Linked DNA regions of Homo sapiens: region 1 is linked to region 2. Evidence: promoter capture Hi-C in human tissues and cell types (Jung and others, 2019). All regions are on one chromosome and are shown on one strand. The core of a region is centred on a gene start or on the middle of the fragment in contact, and the rest is flanking DNA. Distances in the headings are between cores, read along the strand shown. Region 1 overlaps ANXA4 (annexin A4). Region 2 holds the start of NFU1 (NFU1 iron-sulfur cluster scaffold).

Region 1 (2,700 bases), core at 157-2,656, 370 kb before region 2:
TCCTGGTTCAAGCAATTCTCCTGCCTCAACCTACAAAGTAGCTAGGATTACAGGTGCTCAGCACCATGCCCGGCTAATTTTTGTATTTTTTAAGGAGAGATGGGGTTTCACCATGTTGGCCAGGTTGGTCTCAAACTCCTGGCCTCAAGTGATCCACCCACCTCGGTCTCCCAAAGTGCTGGGATTACAGGTGTGACCCACCACACCTGGCCTCAAGAACATCTTTAAACAAGACAAAGGATCGATCTTTTAAAACACAAGGTCACTTCGGGAACCTAGATCAGGAAGAGGCCCTGCTTCCTGTTGCTGCGAAGTCAGCCAGACAGAGCAGGAAAGACTGTGGCCTACCCTGCCGATGGTGCTCTTGTAGGCTGTCCTGATCTCCTGGCGCTGGGCGGTGTTGCGGTAGGCAAGGACGCTAATAATGGCGTCTTCATCGGTGCCTGGGGGAAGAAGGGAGACAGCAGGTAAGTGTGATTTGAGAGAGGAATGAGAAAGCAGGTTCCTCTGTGGACATTGGAGTTACCCAAACACATGCAGAGGGCTTTCTAAGAAAAGAGGCCCTTATTCAGAGGGTTTGTCTACTTTTTGGGAAACAGATGCTAGGTTCGGGACTTAGCCTCTCCTTTAATTAGCTGTTTACTACTGAAGAAAATGGTTAACTTTCTAAACATTAGTTTCCTTATCTGCAAATGTGAATGATGACAGTGATTTCCCTCGATAGGCTGCTGCAAGTGTTAATATAATTAAATGCCTAGCACTTACTAAACATTTAATAAATGTTGGCTGGAGTAATTTTTTCTCTCCTCTAGAATATTTTTTTTTTTTTTTTTTTTTTGAGAGAAAGTCTCACTCTGTCACCCAGGCTGGAGTGCAATGGCGCGATCTCAGCTCACTGCAACCTCCGCCTCCTGGGTTCAAGCGATTCTCCTGCCTCAGCCTCCTGAGTAGCTGGGATTACAGGGCTGTGCCACCACCCCCAGCGAATTTTTGTGTTTTTAGTAGAGACAGGGTTTCACTATGTTGACCAGGCTGGTCTTGAGCTCCTGACCTCAAATGATCTGCCCTCCTCGGCCTCCCAAAGTGCTGGGGTTACATGTGTGAGACACCACGCCCAGCCATCTCCTCTAGAATTCTTTTCATGTCTTTTGAATCTCCTCTCTCTCTCTTCCATATTCTTGCCTTTTTTTTTGTTTTTATCTTTTTATCATCTCCTCTGAGTTTTGAAACAATTCAAACTTGTCTGTTAATTCACCAATTTGGCATTTTGCAGAGTTTAAGTTGGCTGTTACTGCATTCACTGTGTTTTAAAATCTGGAACTATGTTTTGCACTTCTAAGCTATCTTTCCTGAACACAAATGGTTCCCTTTTAGAACTGCTGACAAATTACCATGATACAACATCTTACCAAAACTTTAAGCAAAAATTACAAATTAAAAATGTTCTAAGTTTTGCTTGCCTGTTTCTTGCAGCAGCTTTAACAAGGAGACTTTATTCTGATTTTTCAGATTGGTCCCTTGTCTTTATAACAGCTGGCTGTTCATAAATGTTTGGTGAATCTTCTGTTTCCTCGTTGTTTGTGCTGTATGGGGGGTTGGAATGGGTTTCAGAAATGATTCTATTGAAAATATTTCAGGGAGAAATGAAAAAATACAGCCAAACTTTAGTTATCCTTGGCAAGGTTAGAGATGCAAAAAGATGTGAGGTGTGGAGAGGAAGCTATAGAACTTTAAGTTTACATACCTTGGGGACCTACTTTCTGTTCCTTTTTTTTTTTTCTTTTTTTGAGATGGAGTTTCGCTCTGTCACCCGGGCTGGAGTGCAGTCCAGCTCACTCCCTCTCCCTCCCAGGTTCAAGCAATTCTCCTGCCTCAGCCTCCCTAGTAGCTGGGATTACAGGTGCCTGCCACCATGCCTGGCTAATTTTTTTTTGTATTTTTTACTAGAGATGGGTTTCACCATGTTGACCAGGCTGGTCTTGAACTCCTGACCTCAGGCGATCCACCTGCCTCAGCCTCCCAAAGTGCTGAGATTACAGGCATGAGCCATCATGCCCAGCCGTGTTCCTATTTTTAAAAAGGAGAGGACAATCCATATAACAATCAATTTCTCCCTTGGCACTCTCAGCTAGGAGGGGGTGTGGAAGGGGCAGAGAGGGTTCATTACCTTTTGTTCATTCCCTGTTTCTGTGAAAGGGATCACTCTTCCCCCCAGTCAAGCCAAGCTGAAATCCTCAAAATAGATTCAATTTTTTTTTTTTTTTTTGAGACAGAGTCTTGCTCTGTGGCCAGTCTGTAGTGCAGTGGTGCCATCTCGGCTCACTGCAACCTCTGCCTCCCGGGTTCAAGCGATTCTCCTGCCTCAGCCTCCCCAGTAGCTGGGACTACAGGTGCACGCCACCACGCCCAGCTAATTTTTGTGTTTTTAGTAGAGACGGGGTTTCACCTTGTTGGCCAGAATGGTCTCGATCTTTTGACCTTGTGCTCTGCCCACCTAGGCCTCCCAAAGTGCTGGGATTACAGGCGTGAGCCACTGCACCCAGCCCAATAGCTTTGATTTTTTTACCCTCTCCTTTCCTCTTCATTCAAGTCCACGGTCATGCAAAATGTTGCTTTACAGCCTCTTTTGCATTCTTTCACTCTTTTTATTTCCTATCACAACCATTCCAATTCAAGATTTCAGGGTTTCTTCTTAGACAA
Region 2 (2,700 bases), core at 154-2,653:
AAAGCAAGTACGCAGCATTGGGAATGAACCAAACTCGTAGGAGGCACAGCCCACTCAGTGTGCGGGCCCGGGCGAGCTGCAGGCCTGAAACCCACCCACCCTCTTAGATGTGTCTGTGGGCCATAGAAATTACTAGGGTTGTCTTGGGTGTGGCCTCAACCTGTTCAACAACAGGTGTGCTGTTTCCATTCTGGAAACCAGTCCTCTGTCTTCCAGAACAGTGATTCTCAAATTTTAGCTGGCATCAGAATCCTGGGAAGGGTTTGTTAAAACACTACTAGGCAGGGTGAGGTAACCTAAGAGCTTTTGGAGGCCCAGGTGAGAGGGATCACTTGAGGCCAGCAGAGTTCAAGAGCAGCCCAGGCAACACAGGGAGACCTCTTCTCTACAAAAATACTACTACTACTACTGCTAATAAAAGCCAGGCACCGTGGCTCACACCTGTAATCCCAGTGCTTTGGGAGGCTGAGGCTGGAGGATGAATCACTTGAGCCCAGGAGTTGGTTTTGGTGAGCTATGATCGCACTCCTGCTCTCCAGCCTGGGCAACAGAGATAGACCCTGTCTCTGGAAAAAGAAAAAAAAAAAAAGCAAGTAACAAAGATTTCTAGTCCCCACCTACAGAGATTGTGCCTCAGTAAGTATAAAGTGGGGCCCAGGATTTCTAACATGTTCTAACGTGCATTTCTAACGTGTTCTCCTGCTTTTTTTTGGCCCCTAGTCCGCACTTTGAGAACCGTTGTCCTAGAGAAAACGGAATACTCCAGGAAGGTTCTGGAAGAATAGGTAATGGGCTTTGGCACTCTGCCCTGGAAACTAGTCAAGTCTCATGTTAATCGGAGAAGGGCAGCACTGTACCAGATACATCCTCTGTGCGGGTTGGTCCAAGATGACCAAGTGGCAGCTGACAAGCACAGCTATGAGGAAGGGTTAGACACAGTTCCACATCAGACCCATGGGAAAAGGGCAGGAGAAATGCGAGAACCTTTTAGAAGGAATGCTCCAGGGAGTCTTTGGGGGCAGTCACTGAGCTGGGCCTGGAGGCTGAGTAGGGTCCTAGAGGAGGGAATGGGTCAGGTTTAGGGGCTGGAAACAGCATTCGCAAGGCAGCACCAGCACCAGCTAAAAACCTAGCCAACAGGGAAAACAAAGTACGGAAACACGCATGCGTTCACAGTGCTGCGTGAATTAACCAAGCGTTGGCGCAAACGGGAAAGGTTCCCCGGCCTCTCTTGGTCAGGGTGACGCAGTAGCCTGCAAACCTCGGCGCGTAGGCCACCGCACTTATCCGCAGCAGGACCGCCCGCAGCCGGTAGGGTGGGCTCTTCCCAGTGCCCGCCCAGCTACCGGCCAGCCTGCGGCTGCGCAGATCTTTCGTGGTTCTGTCAGGGAGACCCTTAGGCACTCCGGACTAAGATGGCGGCGACGGCCAGGCGGGGCTGGGGAGCTGCGGCTGTTGCCGCCGGGCTGCGCAGGCGGTAGGTGACGAGCCTGGAGCTCCGAATAGGTGTGCCGCTGGGCTTAGCCAGCGGAGCGGTCGCCGCCTTGCAGACCCTCTCTCGAGGCGGGTGGGTAGTGCATCTGATGGAGCCGGCGGGTCCGCCCTGTCGCCGTAGTTGGGGGTGAGCCCTGAGGCTGTCTGTGCGGGAGCTCGGCGCTTCTGTGGCCTAATCCGGGCGGACTCTCTGGAGCTTCCTCTCAGGCTCAGAGACCCAGTTCTTGAGTCTCTGCGGTACGGAAGCTTGTAGAGACTGGCTGTAGAGCCAGAACGGAGGAGCTGTTTTAAAATCGTGTGCCTCTCCCGCCCCCAGGCCCTCTACCGGGTGCATTCCCTCCTCTTCTAAACGCAGAATCAGAATGTCACACAGAAGGGAAGAAAATACCTTGTCTCGTTTCCTCATTTTCCCAGTAAGGCCCTGAAAGAGGAGGTGACATGTCCAAGGTTACACAGTTTCTAAGTGATGGAATTCCGACGAGAACCAGGACCCCTAGATTCCCTGCACCCACCACCATTAAGCCCACTCTGTTCCCTTGTTTTTTCCGCCTCCCTGAGCCCTACCTTTGAGTTTCACCTTTCAAAGACTTCTGTGAACATTGCTAAGAGGACATTTATGTAGGTGTACCTTAATTTTACGTCTGGAGAAAATGGCCTACGGAGAGTTTGCCCTCTAGAGTATTAGACATTGTAGTGTTAATGGTGCTCTTGAAGTTTAAATGTATATCCTAAAAAGATTTAAGTTGGTAGAATTTTTTGTTAGTTACCTCCTGTGTTTGAGTAGATGTCTTCCTTGAATAATGTAATCCACTCTTACTTTAAAAAAACAAGACTTTAAACCTGTATGTTGGAATGTGCTTCCTCTTTATTCATTCTGCTGCCTTTTCCCTGGGCTGAAGGGACGAGAATATTATTCTTCTAGTGCATTTCCAAATTCCAGAGTATTCACAGATTTAGATACTGAGCTATAGAAAAAGGCATTTTTACCCCAAACCTTGAACTGCACTCAATTAGTAATTATTGGGCACCAATTAAATAATGGTAGCAGCTGCCATTTATTGAGCACTTACTGCATGGCCTGGCACTGGTTTAAGCACTTTACATGGATTCTCTGGATTATTTATGAGGTAGCTGTGAAACTAATCTCATTGTAGAGATGAAGAACTGAGGCCATTGTGCTAGCAGCTAGAAATGAAGATAGTTTCT

What was found. The method cuts DNA at HindIII sites, captures the fragments that hold promoters and counts their contacts. A contact is called where the count stands out against the background at its distance.
Region 1: a contact is called between a fragment that was not itself captured here and the fragment with the promoter of NFU1 in region 2, in 1 of the 25 tissues and cell types used here (aorta).

The regions. Positions count from the first base shown.
Region 1 is chr2:69,802,276-69,804,975 of GRCh38, reverse strand. It overlaps ANXA4 (annexin A4), which reads right to left. Exons shown (of 13, transcript NM_001153.5): 4 at 349-443. Among named protein-coding and RNA genes, the nearest start is that of SMANTIS, 4.6 kb to the right of the region's middle. The HindIII fragment of the contact is 6,525 bases long and covers 1-2,700 here.
Region 2 is chr2:69,436,138-69,438,837 of GRCh38, reverse strand. It overlaps NFU1 (NFU1 iron-sulfur cluster scaffold), which reads left to right and starts at 1,403. Exons shown (of 8, transcript NM_001002755.4): 1 at 1,403-1,477. The coding sequence starts at 1,416. RefSeq lists an enhancer at 1,398-1,547. The HindIII fragment of the contact is 8,312 bases long and covers 1-2,700 here.